Linked DNA regions of Homo sapiens: all the other regions are linked to region 3. Evidence: promoter capture Hi-C in human tissues and cell types (Jung and others, 2019). All regions are on one chromosome and are shown on one strand. Each heading gives the region's core, a stretch centred on a gene start or on the middle of the fragment in contact. The rest is flanking DNA. Distances are from core to core; before and after follow the strand shown. Region 1 has its middle 8.6 kb from the start of PISD. Region 2 overlaps PISD (phosphatidylserine decarboxylase). Region 3 holds the start of PATZ1 (POZ/BTB and AT hook containing zinc finger 1).

What was found. The method cuts DNA at HindIII sites, captures the fragments that hold promoters and counts their contacts. A contact is called where the count stands out against the background at its distance.
Region 1: a fragment that was not itself captured here is called in contact with the fragment with the promoter of PATZ1 in region 3 in 1 of the 25 tissues and cell types used here (thymus).
Region 2: a contact is called between a fragment that was not itself captured here and the fragment with the promoter of PATZ1 in region 3, in 1 of the 25 tissues and cell types used here (lymphoblastoid cells).

The regions. Positions count from the first base shown.
Region 1 is chr22:31,669,457-31,672,156 of GRCh38, forward strand. No RefSeq gene overlaps it. Among named protein-coding and RNA genes, the nearest start is that of PISD, 8.6 kb to the left of the region's middle. The HindIII fragment of the contact is 7,943 bases long and covers 1-2,700 here.
Region 2 is chr22:31,652,209-31,654,908 of GRCh38, forward strand. The region is part of intron 1 of PISD (phosphatidylserine decarboxylase); the gene reads right to left. Among named protein-coding and RNA genes, the nearest start is that of PISD, 8.7 kb to the right of the region's middle. The HindIII fragment of the contact is 4,585 bases long and covers 1-2,700 here.
Region 3 is chr22:31,344,964-31,347,663 of GRCh38, forward strand. PATZ1 (POZ/BTB and AT hook containing zinc finger 1) reads right to left here and starts at 1,383. Exons shown (of 5, transcript NM_014323.3): 1 at 1-1,383. The coding sequence starts at 639. It overlaps LINC01521 (long intergenic non-protein coding RNA 1521), which reads left to right and starts at 1,796. Exons shown (of 1, transcript NR_120386.1): 1 at 1,796-2,700. RefSeq lists silencers at 139-208, 759-1,178, 1,549-1,618, 1,669-1,888. The HindIII fragment of the contact is 10,371 bases long and covers 1-2,700 here.

The DNA of each region.
Region 1 (2,700 bases), core at 73-2,572, 320 kb after region 3:
CTCACGCCTGTAATCCCAACACTTTGGGAGGCCAAGGCAGGCGGATCACGAGGTCAGGAGCTCGAGACCAGCCTGACCAACATGGTGAAACCCCATCTCTACTAAAAATACAAAAATTAGCCAGGCGTGGTGGCGCACACCTATAATCCCAGCTACTTGGGAGGCTGAGGCAGGAGAATCACTTGAACCCAGAAGGTGGAGGTTGCAGTGAGCTGAGATCGTGCCATTGCACTCCAGCCTGGGCAACAAGAGCGAAACTCTGTCTCAAAAAAAAAAAAAAAAAAAACCCTAATTCTCAAAATTGTACATTGAAACTGTCACATAATTAACTTTACATTTGGTTTATGGTTAATGGTAGGTATTAGAAAGTACACTTAAAAGTACTGTGACTTGGCCAGGTGCAGTGGCTCACGCCTGTAATCCCAACACTTTGGGAGGCTGAGGCGGGTGGATCACAAGCTCAAGAGATCGAGACCATCCTGGCCAACATGGTGAAAACCCGTCTCTATTAAAAATACAAAAATTAGCTGGGCATGGTGGCGCACGCCTGTAGTCCCAGCTACTTGGGAGGCTGAGGCAGGAGAATCGCTTGAACCCAGGAGGCAGAGGCTGCAGTGAGCCAAGATTGCACCACTGCACTCCAGCCTGGTGACAGAGTGAGATTCCATCTCAAAAAAAAGTAGCATGGCTTAATTAATTTGGGTTGGTGGCAGTGATTTGTATAGAAGGCTCCTGGAGGAAGGGATGTTTGCAATGCGACTTTGTGATAGGCTAAATAATACCACTACACCCCCATCCTCAGTGATGTCCACATTCTTTTTTTTTTTTTTTTAACAGAGTCTTGCTCTGTCACCCAGGCTGGAGTGCAGTGGCACGATCTCAGCTCACTGCAAGCTCCGCCTCCTGGGTTCACACCATTCTCCTGCCTCAGCCTCCAGAGTAGCTGGGACTACATGCGTCCACCACCGTGCTTGGCTAATTTTTTGTATTTTTAGTAGAGACGGGGTTTCACCGTGTTAGCCAGGATGGTCTTGATCTCCTGACCTCGTGATCCACCCGCCTTGGCCTCCCAAAGTGCTGGGATTACAAGCGTGAGCCACCGTGCCCGGCCAGTGATGTCCACATTCTAATCCTCAGAACCTGTGAATGTGTTATGTTACATGGCAAGCAAAATTGAGAAATGGAGAACAGATTAGTGGTTGCCAGAGATTAAAGAGAGGGTGGGAGTGGGAGGGAAATGTGTGCAGCTATAAAAGGACTAAGGCATCCTTGTAGGTCCTGGTAATAGAAATGTACTGTATCTTGACTATATGGATGTCAATACTGTGATTATGATATTGTATAGTTTTGCAAGATGTTACCATTGGGGGAAAATTGGGTAAAGGGTACACCAGGATCTCTGTATTATTTCTTTTTGTTTTTGTTTTTTAGATGGAGTCTCACTTTGTTGCCCAGGCTGGAGTGTGATGGTGTGACCTCAGCTCACTGCAACCTCCACCTCTTAGGCTCAAGTGATTCTTGTGTCTCAGCCTCCTGAACTGCTGGGATTACAGGCACACGCCACCACACCTGGGTAATTTTTATATTTTTAGTAGAGACTGAGTCACCACGCCCGGCCTCAAGTTTTTCATTTTAAAGATAAGGAGAGGTCACGTGACTCTGTGAAGGTCACAGGGTCAGCAAGTGAAATGGCTGGACTGGATACTGCAATCTGACTTCCAGGCTGCTGCATTTCACCCAAGGTGTCCAAAGTTTTCCAGGCTGAATTTTCATGACTCCTGGGCCTTCCAAAAAATACTGGGATAATGTGAGTATTGAAGTGGAACAACGGAATTCTGTGGCTGGTATCTGAATACAGAGCTATGGAAGAGAGGTTGTGGAATGCTAAAGTCATATAACCCCATTCAGCTCACAAAAGTTTTGTAACAATATGTTGCAAGAAAGTGATCTTGGCAGGGCGGGTGCAGTGGCTCACGCCTGTAATCCCAGCACTTTGGGAGGCCGAGGTGGGTGGTTCACCTGAGGTCAGGAGTTTGAGACCAGCCTGGCCAACATGGCAAAACCCCATCCCTACTAAAAATACAAAAATTAGTCAGCTGTGGTGGCTCATGCCTGTAGTCCCAGCTACTCGGGAGGCTGAGGTGGGAGAGTCACTTGAACCAGGGAGGTAGAGGATGCAGTGAGCCAAGATGGCACCACTGCAATCTAGCCTGGCAACAGAGCAAGACTCCATCTCAAAAGAAAAAAAAAAAAAAAGAAAGTGACCTGGAACTTTAATCATCTGAATGATGTGCAGCATGAAGTCTCTGAAAGAAATTCCAAGAAATCCTGCCAGATTTTAATTTCTGTGTGTTTGACGCTGCCAGAGACAGATAACTTGTTTTCATTGCTGTTGTTGTTTTGAGACAGGGTCTTGCTCTGTCCCCAGGCTGGAGTGCAGCTGGCACACTCACAGCTCTTTGCAGCCTGGGCCTCCTGGGCTCCAGAAATCCTCCCGCCTCAGTCTCACAAGTAGCTGGGACTACAGGCATGGACCACCACACCTGGCTACTTCGTTTGTATTTTTTGTAGAGACAGGGTTTTGCCATGTTGCCCAGGTTGGTCTCCAACTCCTAGGCTCAAGTGATCTGCCTGTCTCAGCCTCTCGAAGTGCTGGGATTATAGGTGTGAGCCACCACACCCAGCCATGAAAATTGTTTT
Region 2 (2,700 bases), core at 161-2,660, 310 kb after region 3:
GCAACCTCCACCTCCCGGGTTCAAGCGATTGTCATGCCTCAGCCTCCTGAGTACCTGGAATTACAGGCGCATGCCACTGCACCTGACTAATTTCGTATTTTTAGTAGAGACAGAGTTTCACCACGTTGGCCAGGCTGGCCTCAAACTCCTGACCTCAAGTGATCCACCTGCCTCGGCCCGCCAAAGTGCTGGGATTACAGATGTGAGCCACAGCACTTGGCCCAAGTTATGTCTTGTATAGATATCCTACAAATGTTATCAGATTTAGGTACTTTCCTTTTTTCACATAAAATTTCCTTGCCTTACAAACACCTGGCTGAGCACATGATGGCTCACGCCTGGAATCCCAGCACTTTGGGAGGCCGAGGTGGGTGGATCACTTGAGGTCAGGAGTTCGAGACCAGCCTGGCCAACATGGTGCAACCCCGTCTCTACTAAAAATACAAAAATTAGCCGGGCGCGGTGGCACACATGCTGTAGTACCAGCTACTCGGGAGGCTGAGGCAGGAGAATCACAAAACAAAACAAAACAAACACCCCCCTTGCCAGGCTGGGCATTGTGGTTCACAACTATAATCCTGGCACTGTGGGAGGCTGAGGTGGGAGGATTGCTTGAGCCCAGGAGTTCAAGACCAGCCTGGGCAACATGGTGAAACCCCATCTGTACAAAAAATACAAAAATTAGCCGGGCATGGTGGCATGTGCCTGTAGTCCTACCTAACCAAAAAGTTGAAGTGGGAGGATCGCCTGAACCCAGGAGGCAGAGGTTACAGTGAGCCGAAAACACGCTACTGTACTCCAGGCTGGGTGACAGAGTAGGACCCTACCTTAAAAAAAAAAAAAAAAAAAAACCACACCCACCTTGCAGCATAGCACTATTGTAGCTAACATGATGAATCTGATTCTCCTATAGGCAAACAAGGAGAAAAAGCATCTTACCATGACGAGCACCACCCCCAAGGCCAGACAGCTATTAACACAATGAAGGGTATATTTCAGTATATGAAAGTTCTTTCAGTTCTGAACAATGTTCATTTCTTAGACTGGATACTCCCACTGCCACAGCAAAAAGCCTAAAACCCTGCTTTCTAAACAGAATTTTAACGAGAAGTGCAAAAACGGACTGAAGGATAAATTGTTGTGTTCTGTACATTGCCGCATTGTGTTTTCCAGAATACTGAAAAACCCCTAACTGAAAGAATGTTTGCACAATGATTAACAAGGCTTTGTCTGACAGGAGGAAATAGGAATGGGAGATGATCATTTATGTATCCACCGTAACTGGACACAGGGCACTCAGGTGGTTTGTTTTGCATATCCATCTTCCCCCTCAGGAACCCTGCCCAAGAACAAACAGCTCAGCTTTTTGTCCACCGCTGTAGTCCCAGCTGCTGGAACAAATACTGGGAAATGCTTCATTATATCAGTTTGGTACATCAGATTTAGGTACTTCCCTTTTTTCACATAAAACTTCCTTGACTTATAAACACCTAGCTGAGCATGGTGGCTCATGACTGTAATTCCAGCACTTTGGGAGGCCAAGGCGGGTGGATCACTTGAGGTCAGGAGTTCGAGACCAGCCTGGCCAACATGGTGAAACCCCATTTCCACTAAAAATACAAAAATTAGCCAGGTGTGGTGGCACACACGCTGTAGTACCAGCTACTCAGGAGGCTGAGGCAGGAGAATCTTATTACGGGATCGTCCCGATTTTCATATGAATGCTGTCATTTCTTCAGTCTTACACAAACACTGTCTACCATGCTATCATTCTTTGGTCCTCCCTACTTTTCTGCTCTCCTTCATTCCAAGCCTAAAAAGAGCTCTCCACTCACTGTTACCACTTCCTCACCTCTCAGCCTCTCTTAGTCCCACTCAGTAAGGTTTTGTTCCTATCACACCACCTCATCAAGGTCACCAACAACCTGCATGTTGCCAACACCAATGCACACACATATCTGAGGTCTCATCTTACTTGACGTCTCAGCAGCATGACACAGTTGATCCTTCTCTCCTTGAAACACTCTTCACTGGGCTTTTGGGACCGTGATTTTTTTCCTATTTCTCTGGTTTCTTCTCAGTCTCTATTTGTGAATTCTCCTTTGCTTCCTAACTGTGGATTCTTGCCATGCCCAGGGTTCAGATCTCTTCTCTACCTATAAACTCTCCCCAGAGATGCTTATCCAGTCCCATGGCTTTAAAGAACCATCCACTGATGACTCCTTCATTGCTCCTCCAGGGGCCAGCTACCCAATGGCCCCATTTTGAGTCCTCTCAAACTGAGTCTGTAGAAGACAGGATTCCCGACCCTCTCTAACTCACCTTCAATCTGCTCCTGCCCGAGTTCTCTATCCATAGGAGAGACTAGCCAGATGTTTACCAAATGCACTTCCTCTTCTGGACACCTGTTAGACTAAATTTCCCAGCCTCCTGTGCAGCAAGGTGTGGCCATGAGACTAAGTGTGAACCAATGAAATCTGAGGATCATTCGGGCTTCCCAGGCATTCACCTCCAAGCTTACCCCCACCAGCCAGCTTGATGCAGACAAACATGCCGACTGTGGGAAGTATTAAAGATGGCAGGAAGGCCAGGCGTGGTGGCTCACACCTGTAATCCTAATACTTTGGGAGGCCAAGGTGGAGGAATTGCCTGAGCTCAGGAGTTTGAGACCAGCCTGGGCAACACGGTAAAACCCAGTAG
Region 3 (2,700 bases), core at 133-2,632:
AGCTGCCTCCTCCTCTGGCTGCATGCTGCCGGCGATGCCATTGCTGTTGGCTGCCAAGGCTGCCCCGTTGGTCATGTCCAAAGGGAAGCCCAAGTCCGAGGTCCCAGGGGGGCGAAAGAGCATTATATCGGCGCGGGCAGGGGGTACCAGGATCTGTACGTTGGACTGTTTGATGACTTCCTGGCAGATCTCGATAACCGACCTCATCAGCAGGAACTTGGCGGCCGTCATGAGTTCGGGAAAGCTCTCCAAGCGCACCACGATGCGGGAAGTGTAGGCGAAGTCCAGAATGTCCCCAAATACCTTGGAGCTGATAGTGTGCATCTCCAGCTCCCGGCTGCCCCCGGCCCCGCCGCCTGGTGCTGCCGTCGCGCCCCCTACATCAGCCGGACCCCCGTCCGCAGCTCCGCCGTCGCCCAACTGGGCGCTGAACACCGACTCAAAGTACTCGCTGCAGGCGGCCAGCACGGCGCGGTGCGCTGGGAAGCTCTCGTCGCCTACCCGCAAGAGCACGTCGCAGAAGCGCCCGCCGTTTTTGCGCTGCTGGTTCAGGTTGTGCAGCATCTCCGTGCTGTGTCTGCTCACCTGGTATGTGTAGCAGCCAGACGGGCCGCACGAAGCGTCGTTCACCCGCTCCATGGCCGCCGCCCCCTCCCACTAGCCCGGCCGCTGCACCTGCCCGCCCCCTCCCTTCCCCTCAGCAGCGAGAAGCGGGGCGCAGCAGACGTGTCCACACTCCCCACACGTGCCGGCCCGAGGCTCTGTAGTCTCGCAGGTGCGCCGAGTGTACACGCCCCCAGCCCGGATCAGACTGTCTAGACTGCGGGGTGCACCACCCCCCACATAGCCAACCCCCGCCCTCGCTGGACTGCGCGCCACTCTCTCCTCTCCGCCCGCCCGCCTCCCCTTCCCGGTCTACCTTCCGGGGGGGTGCGCGAGCGAAGAGGTGCGCCCCTCCTGCAAACGCGCCTGCCACCTCCCCTCCCGCCCGCCAGGCGGCGCCGGCGCGCAGCCAAGAAGGGCACGCGCACGCGGGGAGGAGAAGGAGGGGTCCGCCGCGCAGGCGCGCGCGCGCGCCGCGGCTTTTCCCGGGCCCGCTGGGGGCGCGCGCTGCGTCCCCTGCAAAGCGCGAGCCGGGGCGGGGGCGCCGGAGCGGAGGAAACAAAAGGCGAAGGCGAAGGCGGCGGCGGCGGGGCGCGCACGGGGGCGGTGGCGCGGGCCGGGTCCCGGAGCCTGGAGGGCGGTGGCGGCGGCGGCGGCGGCTGGAGCGGGCGGGCGGCGGCGGCGGCAGAGTAGGCCCTTCCTCAGGCCGGGAGAAGGCGGCGGCGGAGCGGCGGCTGTGCGGCCCCGGGCTCCGTGTGTTCGGAGCGGAGGAAAGATGGCAGCGGCTGCACTTCCTCTTGCACTTTCACCCCTGGGGGGAGGAGAAGGAGGGGGCGATACCAACAACACCCCCCCTCTCGCTTGCAGAAAAAAAAGAAACGGCGAGCTCAGAGTGGGGGCCCCGGCGTCCCCGGCCTTGCACGTGCGCGCCCGGATGCCTAGCCCGGGCCGCCTGGCGCTGCAAACTTTACACTTTCTTTGTGCCGAGCGCCCCCCCCTCACCAAGACGAGGATGCACGTCCCCCCTTCCCTATTTATACACCCCCCCCCCGCAGTCCGCTCCCCCCGCTTCCTGCCCCCCCTCCCCATTCCCCAGATCCGCCAATGCTAGAGCAGCCTGAGCCCCCGTCCGGCCCCCGCCTCCCCACCCCGCCCGCGGGGCCGGGGGCTGCAGTCTCAGCCCCCCCGGACCAATGCAAACGAAGCGCCGAGCCAGCAAACCAGCTCCCACTGCCCCTCCCCTGCCCGCTGAGAGTGGCGGCTAGCAGGGTGGGGGGGCAGGAACTGAGGGGTGCGGATCCGGGCCCCCCAGCCTGCGAAGCGCACTCGCAGGTCGAGCGGGCGTCGTCCACCCTTCGGAGCCCCGCTTTCATGCGTGAAATTCCCAGAAGTCGCCTGCGACCGCCTCCCTGCTTCAAACACCAGAGAGGGCCCGGGGTCCTGGCCGGAGACAGGCCGAACCTCCGGAGCTGCTTCTGCACCCGGTACATTGATCGATCTGATGGGCTGCGCGCCCGGAAGAGCTGGAGAGATGAAGCCAGCGTCCAGCTTCTCCCCCAAACCACAGCACGCCGAGCTTTGTCCCCGGGGAGCGTGAAGTCACCAGCTCCGGGAGGCGACAATATGAGGGCGATGGACGGGGCAGGGACCCCCGGAAGCCCCAGCAATCCTCAGGGAAGTGGGGGTGCCGGAGGAGTCGGGGACACCCTCAGGCCTCTCCAAGCCCGGAGCATCCCCAGCGCCCGCAGCCCTGTGAGACGCCGGGTGCTCTGGTAATGGGCCCTGCCGCCAGGCCTCGGCGCTTTGTCCCCGGCCCGCCCGGGGATGCTACCACGCTAGAGTTGTACACCAAGGTTTGTCTTCCCAGGAAGCGCTGGCGGCTGCCTTTGGGCCGCCTGGCGCGGAGCCCCAGGCTGCAGGCGCCGCGTGTGCGGGCGGGAAGTTCCCACAGTTGCAAAGAGGCAGCGAAGTATGTGTTCCAAACTTTCCACGGTTCCAAACTGAGCGCTTCCATTAAGAGAAGCGGTGTGCGGGGGAAAAGCATTCTGGGTATTAGCATGCAAATGAACGGGCCCGGCTTCCAACTCCGCTCGGGAT